Linked DNA regions of Homo sapiens: region 2 is linked to region 1. The links are contacts of gene promoters, found by promoter capture Hi-C in human tissues and cell types (Jung and others, 2019). All regions are on one chromosome and are shown on one strand. Each heading gives the region's core, a stretch centred on a gene start or on the middle of the fragment in contact. The rest is flanking DNA. Distances are from core to core; before and after follow the strand shown.

The links. The method cuts DNA at HindIII sites, captures the fragments that hold promoters and counts their contacts. A contact is called where the count stands out against the background at its distance.
Region 2: a contact is called between a fragment that was not itself captured here and the fragment with the promoter of GUCA2B in region 1, in 1 of the 25 tissues and cell types used here (bladder).

Annotation. Positions count from the first base shown.
Region 1 is chr1:42,150,222-42,157,690 of GRCh38, forward strand. It overlaps GUCA2B (guanylate cyclase activator 2B), which reads left to right and starts at 3,189. Exons shown (of 3, transcript NM_007102.3): 1 at 3,189-3,319; 2 at 4,459-4,645; 3 at 5,314-5,599. The coding sequence starts at 3,230. The coding sequence ends at 5,375. The HindIII fragment of the contact is 15,047 bases long and covers 1-7,469 here.
Region 2 is chr1:41,911,030-41,918,498 of GRCh38, forward strand. HIVEP3 (HIVEP zinc finger 3) reads right to left here. Exons shown (of 9, transcript NM_024503.5): 1 at 7,384-7,469. Among named protein-coding and RNA genes, the nearest start is that of HIVEP3, 4.2 kb to the right of the region's middle. RefSeq lists silencers at 6,829-7,123, 7,175-7,224. The HindIII fragment of the contact is 8,466 bases long and covers 1-7,106 here.

The DNA.
Region 1 (7,469 bases), core at 1,939-4,438:
GAAGGTAGAGCCAACTGGATTTGCTAGTGAATTTAATTTGGCAAATAAAAAAGAGACATCAAGGATGACTCCCAGATTTTTGACTTGACAACTGGGTGAATGGTAGTACTATCAACCGGTATGAGAGGAACTGAGGAGGCCGGTAGATAAATGAGTTTGGGATTGAGAAGAAAGGCCAGGCTATGGAGTAAACAGAGTGTTGATGGTATTAAAGCCCTTGTGATGGGATAAATCGCCAAGGGGGTGATTACAGACAGGAAGAAAGACGTCCAAAGACAGCCTTGGTGCCCCCTGGGCACTCTAACACCTAGAGGTCAGGAAGAGAAGGAAAAACCAAGGAAGGAAGCTGAGAATATGGAGCCAGAGAGATTGGCAGAAAATGTGGAGAGTCCCAGGAGTCAAATGGTGAAAGCACTTTACTCCAAGAAAGATGGAGTGGTCAGCTATGACAAATGCTGTGGGGAACTGAGCAGTTTGGGGCAGGGAGAGCCCTGGGCTCTGGGCACCATAGCAGTGGGCACTGAGCAGCGAGGCCAGGGTAGAGAGCGGAGCTGCCCAAATGCACATGGGCAAACTGTCACCCACCCCACATCTGTGATTGAGGCTTCCACACAGGGTGAACTCCAGGCTCTTGTGACAGTCACTTCCCACATCCCTAAAGAAGGAAGTGCCCTGATAATACCACGTCAATGCACATGGGCTGGCCAGGGGTAGCGTCAAGGATTTGCGTCTGTGGCCAAGTTGGTTGTGATGGATGGTGGGTCATTTAGAAAGAGATTAGGAGGAGGTGGGTTTGACAAATAAACTTGAGTCATGTTAGGCAGATAGGGAAGTCATACCTGGTTCCCAGGGAAGACTGACACATGACGGGCCCTGGCTGGAGGAGCCACAGGGCGAGGAAAGGACAGACACCATGGCCAAGGGGCCCCCAGACCCTACCGCTATGTCCCATTGATGTGGGGGTCAAGGGAGATGAGCTTCCTCTCGTGGAAAGACCATAGATTTAGGTATCAAGCAGCCTCATAACAACCTCAAACACTGGAGACGTCACATTATTTTTACAAATGAGAAACTGAGATCACAGAGGTCGTCGCTTGTCCAAGGTCCTACAGTTGATCAGACCCAAGTATGGACATTCCAGCCCAGCATTGAGTTCAGCCTGTGCATGTCAGAAAGCAGCACTGGTCCTGCTATAGATTGAGAGATGGGGCTTGTCATGGGAGTTACATAAGGAGAGGCAGGGAAACCCCCCTTCATGACGCATCCCCCATAAGCCAGGCACATGCTGGGGAAATGGTTGGTTTTAGGGAGAGTCACAGGCTCTCCTGGGACAGGTATCGTTCAGTTTTTCCTTACAACAACCACTATGAGGTCTTTTTAAAAATTATTATTACTATTTTCTCTACTTTACTGATGAAGAAGCGGAGGCTCAGAGAAGCTAAGTAATGTACCAAAGATCACACAGCTGGTAAGTGCTGTCATTCGGGTTTGAACCCAGCTCTCCTCATCTCTAAGTCCTCAGTTCCTTTTTCTATAACACCACAGGCTGAGCAAAGGCAAGAATTCCAGGTAGAAAATCTGCTTACCCCTCTTGCTCCCACAGTGACAACAAACATGGTGCTTCATTGGGCCTCAGGTTACTCATCTGTAAAATGGGAATAACCATTATGCCTATCCTTTAGGATTCAATGGGATTACGACTATAACATAGCTTTGTGCACAGTATTCAAGAAATGAGAGCTATTATTCCCAGATGGTTGTTTTCATTTTACAGATTAGAGGGCATGTAAGATTCCCTTCATTTCCATAGACTCTAAAGAGCAAAGGCTGAAGTCTGGATTCAAAGCAATACATAAGAAATTCCAAAGTTCACTTGAGCTTCTTCTTCATTTCAGTCTGAGATAAGAAAAAGGAAGATGGCATTTCAGGCAGGTGGAATGAGTAGGCAAAGACATGAGATGGGATTAGACCTGTGCAAATAGGGTTGGTATGGGGAAGCACGATGACATCAGATTTTAGCCACTTTTGGGAGTGGCATCTTAAATGCCAAGGTGAGCTATCAGGGCTTCAATCCAACGTTCAGGCTCAATGTCAGGGGAGCCTGCCACATGCCAGAGTCTGTGCCTGGCAGAGCTGAGCCCTGGCACACGCACTGTTTACAGCTGCCTGGTATGGCAGTGGTGATATCACCCTTAGAGACTTTGCCCTCTTCTCTCTGACCCAACCTTCAACCACTGGGGCAGTAGGTTATGCATTGCCTAGAAGGCAACTGTAAGATTCAGGGGCTGCTATGGATGCATTACCCAGGAGATAAGGGCAACCTCAGGTGGGCCGGGGCCCTCACAGCAACCTTACGAGAGGGGTTGTATCATGCCCATTTGATGGAAGAGAAAACTAAGATTCCATTAGAATTGATGTGACGTATCCTAAATCACACAGCTGCAGCAGGACTAGGATTTGAATGCGGGTCAATCTGCCTCCAACACTACTGCCTTTTCCTCCATGCTGGATTAGGCTATTGGCTTCTGAAAGCACAGACAGGTGAGATGGGTCAAACATGGCCTGAAGCACCCAGGCACAGGTGGGAGATGGCAAGCAGAGGCAGGTTCAAAACGTGGGGCCAGGACTGGTCTGAAAGATAGTCGTTAAATAGCACTGAGGAGAGGGAGTGAGAGAGATGTGGGTCTTGGGGGAGTGGGGTCTTGAGAACCCTGAAATCAGCAGTGTCTGCCCACTTTGCCCTGGACCAGCCTCTCTGTCTGTATCCTTCCCCCAGAGAAAGGACCATGGGCTGACCTGGGCCAAGGACACCTGGCTGGAGCCCCTTCTCTGACATTAACTAGCTCCGTGACCTGGGGAAAGCCACCCTCCCTCCTGAGCCTCACTTTTCCTGTCTGTAAAATGGCCTCCCCGTCATCACACCCACACAGGTGTCTTGAGGAGTGAATGATGGTGTGCTCCAAGGCCCCCATGGAGAGCCCGGCACATGGCAGGCACTCGGTGTTCAAGCACTGTGTTCCCATAGACTCTGGGCTCCTGCCCTCCTCGCCCCCAACCCCCTTCCTAGGAACCAGCCCCGGCTTGTCAGAGAGCCAGCTAGCTGTCAACCCCACCCCAGCTGGCCAGTTAATGAGTGACCAGGACTCCTGAGCCTGACCTATAAGGAGGTGCTAGGCAGGGACACAGATGGGAGACGGTGGACAGCGGCAGGGGGAACCCAGGGAGCGCGATGGGCTGCAGGGCTGCATCAGGGCTCCTGCCAGGAGTGGCCGTGGTCCTCCTGCTGCTGCTGCAGAGCACACAGTCAGTCTACATCCAGGTGAGTCCCTTGGCCAGCGTTCCCTTTGCCTGAAGGGCCCCATGGTGGGAGGCTAGGCTGGAGAGGGTGTACTGGGAATTCAGAGGGGCACCGGGGGAGCACGGGGCCCGGGGCTCAGCCCAACACCCATCACAGCCCAGAGACCAAGGCAGCTGGTGGGTGGGGGCAGCCAGATGTTGATGGCAGTGATGATGGCAATGACAACACCAAACTGATTCAGCGCTGCTCCCCTCAAAGGCCCGTGCTGGTCACAGAGGTCAGGGTGTGGAACAGAAGGCTCCTCCTTGCATGGGAGGAGGCCAGAAAGGGAAGGAGACACCCTGTTATGCTCCCACAGTTCCGTATATTCACCCACATGTAGGTGGAGGAGGACAGGCTCCAGAAAAATTTTCCTGAGAAGTAACCCTTGAGCTGGCATTGCAAGATGAACAGGAGGTTGCCAGACACAGATGATGGGGAAACTGTTCCAGGCCAAGGGGCACAGCATGTGCAAAGACCAGATAGAAGACTATGGGGGTTCCAGTGCCCTTCCAGGGGGCATGGGAGAGTGGCAGTAGTCGTCACAGCAGGGCCTGTCTGCCACGTCACAGGGGATGCTGCTGGCCTCGCCCAGCATAGCAGAGACGTCTGTGGCCCTGGGTGTCACATCCCTGACTCTGGGCATGGTCTCCTTGGGAAGAACAAAGTGGGTCCCAGAGAGGGGTGCAGGAGACTTGGCCTCCCCAACAGCCCTGGCCTCAGAGACCAGCTACTTGGGGCTGCCATCACTCTGCCATGTGAGCTCAGGCAGGCGTACTCAGTTAGTGATTGTGCCCTGGTACCAGGCCCCCACGGGAGATGTCAGATGAGGGAACTGAGGCTGAGTGGGGAACAGACAGGCAGCCGGTCATGGGCAGAGGTGGGATTTGAACCAGGGCTTGTCTGTCTCTAAAGCCTCGAACCACTGTGCTCCACAGCCCCGCTGCTTCTTCCTCACACCTCTCACCGCAGCGGCTCTTTCCAGTGTGGCCCTGGACTTCCCATAGAGACGGGGAAGGCTCTGGAGGATCTGCAGGGTTTGAGCAACCCTGGGTGTCATGGCAGTGCCTGCCCCTGGACCAGGTCTTGACCTGCTCCTATCTCCTCTCCCCTGTCTGTAGTACCAAGGCTTCCGGGTCCAGCTGGAATCCATGAAGAAGCTGAGTGACCTGGAGGCACAGTGGGCACCCAGCCCCCGCCTGCAGGCCCAGAGCCTCCTGCCCGCCGTGTGCCACCACCCTGCTCTGCCTCAGGACCTTCAGCCTGTCTGCGCCTCGCAGGAGGCTTCCAGCATCTTCAAGACCCTGAGTAAGTGCCCCCGCTCCCTGCAGAACCTCGCTCTGTCTCCTCCCACGCCCAGGCTCCTCCACCTGGGTTGTTTCTCTTAAGCACCCAGCGGCTGAGGATGGGGAGATTCAAGTAACTCAGGCCCTGTCCCACTGGCTCCCAGGACTCCCCGGTTTGGGCACTGTGAGTCAGGCATGCCTGGAACCTGCTTCGTCCCCTTAGTCCACGCCAGGCACAGACCCATCAACAGACAATGGCTGCGTGGAGCAGAGAGGAGAGCTGGCTGACATCTGCGATGGGACAGGGGTGTGAAAGGCTTCCAAGAGGAGGTGTCAGCCAAGCTGAAACCTGAGGGATCGTGCAGAGCCAGGCACGAGAATGTAGCAACTAGCTAGCACTTACTGAGCACCTACTGTGTGCCGGGACTTGTCGGTCCTGCATTATCTCCTCACAGTGACCCTGTCCATTTAGCAAACAAGAAATCTCAGGCACAGGGAGTGTGAGTGACTTGCCCAGTGGCCGCTAGGAAGGAGAGCATCTGGGACTTGAACCCAAGCCCTCACTCCACCTCTAGACGTTCCTGCTCCCAGTCTGTGGAAGATGCCGCCCATTCCCAAGCAGACCTCTTCTGCTGCCTGGCCACAGAGGGCCCAGGTTCAGGTCAACTGACCAGTTCTCTCCCTGCCCAGGGACCATCGCTAACGACGACTGTGAGCTGTGTGTGAACGTTGCGTGTACCGGCTGCCTCTGAGATAGCCCTGGGTACCCTGAGCCCACCAGGGACACCTCGCCCTTCAGCCCACCACCCTGGCAGGCTTCCATCCCCGTCCATGCTCAAGATGGGTCCCTGGCCACCATGGTCATCACCACCCTTCCAGGGCCTGAGCAGCTGGATCTGGTACAAAGCAATCGGACATAGAGTTGGAGGGGGAGGCCCCTGAGGCAGCCCAGCTCCTGAATAAAGATTCTACAACACACGAGTCCACGTGTCCTTTGTTCATCCCCAGGAGCCATGGGAGGAGCTTCTGGAGAAGAAGTGTGGATTGAGGAGAAAGACGGGACTAAAAATACCAGGCAGGAATTTTCCTGAAGTTTTCAAGGCCCGGGGAGTTGATTGAACCCCATCCCGAATATGAGGGAGCTGAGGCTCGGAGCAGGAATGAGGCATCCAGGATCACAGAGCTCAGAAGCCCCAGAGCCAGCCAGACCTGGCGACCCCCAGGCTGAACTCAAGGCCTCCCCAGCTTCGGAGCAAGAGCAACTGTGCTCCTGACGCAGGAGTGGGGTTGGGGCAGGGAGGAGGTGAGACAGAAGGAGAGAGTGGAGGGAAGATTCAAGCAGCATGTCCTCCCAAGCTGTAATCAGGGCCGACTCTGCCTGGGGTCTGCGTGAGAAGATCGGCCCTTGGCCTTCATCCTCATTCCCAAGCTCCCACTTTTCCCAGCCCCACAGGGACCATCTGGCCAGCTCCAGCTGGGAGGCCTTCCCACCCTCTCTCCATCCTGGCAGCCTGAGGAATATTAATAATAATTAATAGCCAACAAACGCCAGGCACAGTGGCTCACACCTGTAATTCCAGTACTTTAGGAGGCCATGATGGGAGGATTGCTTGAGGCCATGAGTTTGAGACAAACCCGGGCAACGTAGGGAGATCCCATCTCTATGAAAAAATTGAAAGTTAGCCAGAAGTATTGGCACTTGCCTGTAGTTCCAGCTACACAGGAGGCTGAGACAGGAGGATCACTTGAACCTGGGAGGTTGAGGCCATAGTGAGCTGTGATCACACCACTGAACTCCAGCCTTGGCAACAGAGCAAGACCTTGTATTTAAAAATAATAATAATTATAGGCTGGGTGTGGTGACTCACACCTGTAACCCCAGCACTTTGGGAGGTCAAGGTGGGAGGATCACTGAGGTCGGGAGTTTAAGACCAGCCTGGCCAACATGGCGAAACCCCGTCTTTACTAAATACAAAAATTAGCCAGACGTGTAATCGCAGCTACTCAGGAGGCTGAGGCAAGAGAATCACTTGAGCCCAGGAGGCGGATGTTGCAGTGAGCCGAGATTGCAGCACTGCACTCCATCCTGGGTGACAAGAACAAGACCCTGTCTCAGAAAAAAAATGAAAAAAAAATAAAAATAATTATTATTATTATAATTATAACAGCCAATGTTTATTGAGCATTCACTCTATCCCAGGCACTATCCTACTCACTTGGCACTCATGGTAACTCATGGAGTCCTCACAACAGACCGATGAAGCAGATACTGTTATTATCACCCCACCCAGTCTAAGAAGAGTCAGGTACAGAGAGAAAAACTAAGCCCAGATCATAGACCAAGCAAAATGACAAGACAGGGCACTTCCCAGGACATGTGGGCCAGGGTCCATGCTCTGACCACCATATTACTCCCTTGCTCCAGCGGATGATGCCTCATGGGGACCCAGTGCAGCCTCCACATCCTTGCAGCCAACCTCAGTGCCTTTATTCAGGCTGGGAGCCATGCTGGGAACTTCTGGGAGCAGGGCCTTTCCAGAGTGGGGTCCCCCAAAGCCTTGGTCCTGGACAGCCGCGGAGGAGCAAAGTTGGAGGCCAAGAGGCTGTGCCATCTGAACTCAGCTCCCGAAGACCCGGGTGCATGCCCAAGACAGCAGCTTAGTTCTGCTCATGAGTCCTGCAATCTCCCAGACTACAGGTTCCTCCTTGCCGTCACCCCACAGGCAAGGCTGGTGAAGGGCCTTTGCAATGCCTCCTGCAGTTCTCTGGGCCCCTACTTCTCACCCCTCCATCCTCACTCACTGGGGCCTTTATCACTACCTTTGGGCCAGGCCAGACCTTCCTTC
Region 2 (7,469 bases), core at 1,624-4,123, 240 kb before region 1:
GAATTTCTGCCACTGTAAAGATACTAAAAAAGATGGTGAGAAAAAATAACACAAATAAGGAGAAGGTATTTTGGCAACACAGAGAAATAGTCTCCTGCATATATAAAGAACTCCTACAAATAAATAAGAGAGATGTAAACTACCCAATTTTCAAATAAATGGGCAAAAGGCTTAAAGAGGTACTTCACAAAAAAAGAAAATCCAAAAGGTCAACAGCGTATGAAAAGATACTGACCCTCTTTAGTAATCAAATGTATATAAATTGAAAGCAGATTAGATACTGTTACACATCCACAAGATGGGCAAAAGTTTTTGACAATATCCTACAAAATATAAAGTTTTTGCAAGATTAGAGAGCAGTAGGAGAAATTGCAGCTGGATATAGAAATTGGTTAAACACATTGGAAATTAATTTTTGATTAAAGTGAAACTCATATGACACCATAGAATTCTGAACTATCCTAGCAGCACTGAAAATGCCCATAGTCTGTGGCCAGTAATTTTATTACTATGTGTATTCCCTAAGTAAACTTACACACATACTTAGCAGGGAACTTGAAAAAAAATGTTTACAGCAGCACTATTTATAATAGCAAAATACTGGAAATAAGCTAAGTGTTCATTAATAATAGAATAGACATATAAACTGCCATATATTCATTCAATGGAATATTATGGTTCAGCAAAATGAAAAAATTTCAGCTACACCCAACAATGTGAATGAATCCAGGACGAAACATTTAACAACCAGTTGGTACAGAGTCCAATCAAATGAAGTCCCAGCCCTAGTGCCAGAGCTGGTACCCAAGACCCCCTGCCATGCCAGGTGTAATCCCTTTAGAAAGGAGTGGACTTGGAGAAGTACCATAGGAGCACCTGGGAAAGACCCAGGTAAGCAGCAATTTACCAACTGATATGGAAATATTCCCATTGTTTGTCAACCAGTGAGCCTTACTGGTGTGGTGTGCATGGACTAAACGTGAGCATTAAGAACAAAAGAATAAAACAGTGTGATTCCATTTATATGAAGTTCACAAACACGCATAACTAGACAATATATTGTTTAGGGATACAAATGCAAGAGGATAAGACAATAAAGAAAAGCATAGGGGAATAAAAGGTACAGAAATGTCCAGAAGATGGTAATCCCTGAGAAGAGAAGGAATGGGATAGGGTGGAGGGAGGTACACAGGGGATGTCAAAGGTTCAAGTAACATTCTTTTTCTCAAATTGACTGGTGAGTACATAAGTGTTAGTCATAATGTTATTCTTTAGACCTTTCTACACAGTTTGTAAGCATTCGTTTGCATCTAGGGGCTATTTCATTAAAGTTATTTCAAAAGATGGTCACAACACAAATTTAATAAGAAACTCTCATATCAAATTGCTGCAGTTCCTGCCATATCTTTTCTAGTTGCTGGGCAAAGATGCTCTCCTCAATTGTAATTGGTGTGCTCTTAAACCCACTTAAAATTCTAAGAGCTTCTCCCCAGACCACTCCAAAACATTCTTGTGAGAATCTTTCCAGTGAGGTACAGCAAGGCCCAACCTCCAGGGCACATTATGCTCTGGCTCATTTATTTGATACAATCATAATCATAGTGGGTTTTTTTCTCAAACTTTGAAATCTTCAAAATGAGGGCATGGAGCAAATGACTACATTCTGCTTCTCTTGCTAAGATTTCAATGGTGATGCTCTCATTTTAAGTTCTTTACCAGACGCTTCAGCTGTGCTATGCCCAATTCCCCTCATCAAGATTTGCTGACAGTCAGGGGAAGTTTCTAACACTGTATTAAGTGTATACTGAGGGCCAGGGAATTGGGGGGAGTTTGAGGGGCTGCACACATGTGCAATTTTTTAGCAAACCCAGCAGATGCTTGTAGATTCAACACTTTTTCAGTTATTTGTGAACAACCCCTAATAGCCACACCACATGGCAATTTGTCTTTTCTCTGGAGCACAAATGTGAACTGTATGTTGCAAAGCCACAGCAAAGAACAAGTCACTTAGCTAGAGAGGGAGTCTTCTCAAAGACCCAGTAACCCCATCCCAAGATGCCACCAGGGAAACAGAAACTCTCTGGAGGTGAAAGAAACTTAATTTCCTTGAGTGCAAATTGAAAAGGCAAATAATTGGTAGCCTGTGAATAGTCATAGGAACCTCTTCACTCTGGAATGGAACCTGATTCAGGAGGAAGTCAAGAGCCTATGCAAATATTTCTGCATTTGCAAACTTGGGGATTTGCCAAGGGCTTGAGATGTATCCACTGAAAATGTCAAGCGTCTACTGTGTAGAATTTTGATGGAGGAGGATTTCAAAATTCTTCTTCTATTTAAATCCAATCAATTCATGTTTATCAGGGCATCTCTGATCTTTTTGTTTTTAAGAGACATATTTGCTCTATTGTCCAGGCTGGAGTACAGTGATGTGATCATAGCCCATGGCAGGCTCAAACTCCTGGACTCAAGAGATCCTCCCGCCTCTGTCTCCTGAGTAGTTAGAATTACAGGTGTGAGCCACCATGTCCATAATTTTATTTTTATTTTTTTTAAGACAGGGTCTTGCTATGTCGCCCAGGCTGATCTCAAACTCCTGGGCTCAAGTGATCCTCCTGTGTCAGCCTCCTGAGCAGCTGGCATTACAGGCATGAGCCACTGTATCCAGCTCCTCTGATCTTAAGATAGTTTCAACATCTAATGCTAAGCCTGGAAGTCCAATGAAAGACTCAATAGACTAAAATTGGTGACTGAGATTCGGAGGAGCATATCGTGTGTTTATAACACTGCTTTTATTTTTTCCATATCTTTCTACTATTTGTTTATTAGCTTTTCTTTGGATCTCAGTTATTCATACATAACACATGTTTAAAAAGTTGATCCTAAACCCCAATTCAAGGGTCCACCGATGCTCAGAGATCTCAAGATTTCTGAGACTAGCTTCCCTATACTTCTCCCTGGCTTTGCTCCCCAAATCTGAAAGGCATTTTCAGATCACCCCTACTTCATATTTAGATATAAAGCTTCCCCCTTTATCCACAAGAATTCCAGCTGCACCTGGCATTTCAAAAACACTTAGTAATGAGGAGGGGAGACCCATCAGTCATGTACTCACCACTTCCATTGTTGTCCTGCCTCCCAAGCACATATTTCCAACTGTGAAACCTCCCAACAGGGCAGTCCTCTGGATAGTGTGGTTCAGTCACTTCCCACCACCATGCCTCACCTCCTCTGCCTTCCAAGCCCTCTGGGACTTCAGGGAATACCTTTTCTCCATCATATTACAATTAGATACAGGGAACCTTTGGAGAGTTCTGAGTATTTGTGATTATATTCAATAACCTGTTACTGACAGTTTCTTTTAGTTAAAGAATTTTTTCAAGTAAGTTACCAAAACAATGAATGTATGTACATCTAGAAACTGAGAAATACTCTTCCATGACTTTTAGTTAGGTCCTCACGTTTTCCACATATGTATTGAATTTTTAAAATACTATTTTAAAAGGGTCTACATTTATTTTCCTCTACTTTTGTTTTTCCTCTTGCCTTTGTTTTGGAGCAAATTTTAACTGAACACATTGTCAGAGGGTCAGGCCAAGTTTGGCACTGCTCGTGTATCTCAGCCACCTTCCAGTTTTCAGCACGATGTCTGAACTGAAAAAACACCATTGCTTACCATAAGGGTGTGGCCATGACAGCTTGAACAACATCCGGGTAGTGGTAAGTCTACATTTGCTACACAGATGTAAGAAACAGATAGCAGTAGGGTCTACCTCTCCTGCTCCATCTTTTCCATCACCAGGTCTCTTCCAACTCCAGAATTAAAGTCATCAAGTTGGAACAACTCTAAGTGTGTTTCCTGATCATAACAAGACAGGTTGAGGTTCATGAATATTTTCTTTAGTATTAAATGTTAGAACATAACCACTAATAATAACAGTAGCATAGTAGTTCCCTGATAAATTTTGACAAAAGATCATAAAGTTCTCAATTTCAACAGCAGGGCTTTATAGTTGTAATATAATTTTGACCAGTAAGCCACCGGCTATCCAGAAACCTCACAGGTGCCATTATCATGGATAGTTGCAGTTTTTTCTCTAAGAATCATGCAAAAAAAAAAAATCTTTTGGGGATACTTCAGAACTCTGTCTTTTTAAATTGGATGAACAAAATATAATTTTAACTTCTATGGATACATGTGGGTCATTGTGAGCATCAGTTACTATGTTATAAAACAGAGTACCAAAGATCCATCAAAATACATAAAATTTCACTGAATTGCTTACATTAAATGCTCATATCAGCTTTAGAATTCCATGCCTTGAATTCTTGTGCCTTTTAAATTTTTTTTTAGTTTTTCTGTTTTTTACTCTTACTTCTTACTGATACTTGATAAAAGAGCTTTAATAATCCTTGCACAGTACAGTATCAGTTGCTTCCAATTTGCTAGGTGCATTTGACAAACTAATAACCAAGCCTCTTAAAACTTGAAGTAAATGCAGAGGCCTGAAAGAGGGTATAAAATTTCCTCCAATGATCAAAATTCATAAACTGTAGCTCATGGACTTATGACCTTTCTCTTGATTTGCCATCTAGGTCCCAACTGGATAAGTGAAATTATGTAAATGTGAGTTCCAGATTGTTGTGGTATTATCCTAATACCTATCAACTACATAGCATGTTACTAAACGTATCTCATTTTTCTTCTCAAGATAGTTCAGTGGTCTTGGTAAGGTTATGATGGTTACACCTACTTTACAGATAAGGAAGAAAATTGGTCACGGGCTTTGGCCAAGTCTGACCCAGAATGCTAGTGCTGCCTGTTGATACAGCCAGTGTTTTCCAGCCCTGCCCGCCTAGTGCATCTGCAGATTTGTAAATACACTTTGACTCCACAGGAAACAGGATGGAGAACAGCATGTCAGGGACTCCTTGATGGGCAGGATGGAGGGCAAAAAAGAGCCTTAAAGACATTAGGGAATTCACAGAGTAGGGAGTGAGAGACAAGTTAAATGCTATCCAGTTGTCACACAGCTTTCTTAATGTTATCTTTCATCAAATCATGTCCTAGAACCTGCCAGGACTTCAGACTAAATGCATCTTCTTCTTGCCTGTACCTTTCACACACTAAATGTCTCAACAGCTCACTTGGCAAGGACCCAAAGGCAGCACACACTTCTCCACTCCAAGGAGGGTGGCTGCCACTAAACACAATGGGCGGAGACAGCTCAACAATAGTGCCAGTTGAGCACATCTTGATCCACTGCCACAGAGTTCACAGTAGTAGTTGGCCCTCAAAGCAAACCCACTGGGGTGTTGAGGGCAAAAAAACAATCTTAGCCTTAAGGGGCCAGACTTTGCCATCAAATTAACAAATCTGCCCAACAGCCCCAGGCTGAGGCGCTCAGGGGTGTGACAGGAGGGCCCCTGTTAACAATTCTGTATCCTGTGGGTGCCTTAACTAGATGGAGTGGAGAGGAAGCAGAGAGCTAAGTGTCACACCACCCTCTCCTCCTGCCTGCAGGTGTCTTAGTTGGACAGCTGTCCACCTTCCTTGCAAAAAACTCCCACAATCTTTAAATGCAACTATGTAAAGGGCCTCCAGCCTCTGCAAGCCATCACAACTTTAAAGAGCATATGTCAAACAGCTCAGACGGCATCTGAGGTCTATTCTTCAGCCCCACAGTATAGCCCAACCCCAGAGCACAAGTGACACCCTAGTGGACAGGAACTCCTCCCTACACTGGCTGCTCAGCAGGACCATGAAGAACAGCTGGGACCTGGCCTATTACCTTGGCTTCAGGATTCATTTTCTGCCTGGAATTGGGAAACTGGAGGCCCTGCAGGGGTCCTTCTCCTGGGTCCAACTGTCTCCAGGGTGCAAGAGGGGTGAAATTACCAAATGAAAGTTCAGATAAGCAATTACTGGCTGAAAGAGACACAGGAGGGTCTTCAGATCAACACTGACCCAGAGCTAATACCACACTGTCCTCAGAGGGACACACGATCACTGACCTGTATTCTTCACATTTAAGTTGCTAGAATTATTCCTCCTTGCCCCCACTCTCTCCCTGCCCCCAGCATACACATAATTACATAAAGACGTCTTAAACAACTGTAGCACCCAACTTCTTCAGTCTGGGGGAGAGCCAGGAGATGGTGGGGAGCTGTTTGGGCACACGTCTGATCATTACATAATCACACAAACATGGGCTGGAGAACACTGCCATGCAGATCAGTTCAGCAAACACCTCATTCTCCCTCTTTCCTCTTCCCTCCCCCCGTAACACCCAAAATGCACACCAGAGTTAACAAAACCGAAGCACTCCAGGTAGCCAGTGGGCACCTGGCTGCTGTGGTTACAATGCCAAGGGCTACCAGAAACGTCAGCGTATACCAGAAAGAGGGCCAGGGTGCTGCTCACCCAGCGACCAGATCTGCAGACCCTCTTCCTGCAACCACTGCCCCCGAAGTTCAAGGAAGGGCCTAGCCACAGAAATATTCCTGACCTGCAACAGAAACCAAACCAGCTACGTTAAAGGAAACCAATGCCGAGCCTCCAAGTTCCTCTGCACCACTGCCACACTCAGGAGTCCTCAGCAGCCTGGACAATATCATTAGGGACCATTCGGCACCATCAGTGTTTCCATTTAAAAGATAGTAAAATGTGGGGCATAACTTGGAGGGGACACTCTCTCTGCTAGCAGGGAGGCAAGAATCCCCTATAGAATAGGAGTTTGGTTTGGGTTTGGTTGGGTCAGGTTGGGGGTTGGGAAATGATTTTGCTTTAGGAATATTTTCAGGGGGCTAGGATTAAGGGGGAAAAAGAAAGCTATCCCCTCTGTCTCAGCAGCCAGCATCATACGAATCTCACTCTCAACCAAGCAGGCTACTGCAGTCCGCCTAAACAATCCGGAGCAGCAGCCAAGGCAGCACAAGAAAACGCCGGTGCCACGGAACGCGATGCCTAAGCCCCCCAGCCGAGGCTCCTATGGAGCCGGCCGCCAGTGCGCGGGTGCAGAGCCCAGCAGAGCCTGCTGCAAGCAGCGCTGGAGCGCACGGCGCGCATAGGGTTACAGCCCCGCCGCCGCCGCCGCCGCCGCCGCCTGTGATTGACGCGCGGGGGTCACTTGAGGCTCGCGCCGCTCCCCAGCACCAGGCCGAGCAGCGCGCTCAGCCCACCGGGGGCACTGGCCGCCACGCGCAGCCCACCCGGCCGGCCCCTGCGTCTCGGCAGCCGGACACCTTGCCTAAGAAAGGCATACACAAAATGGAATCGCAGCTCGCTATTCTGCTTCGCGGTGCGGCCTCAGGCAAAAACACAATCACAAGGTAAAATACAGCGCAAGGAATCCATCCGCCGAATAAAAACCCAGAGTCCCCTACCTTCGGCCTTGGGATGGCAAACTGGTCCTGTGTTCTCTGACCCACGGATCCAGCCCCTTCTTCATGAATTATTCCGGCCAGGCAGG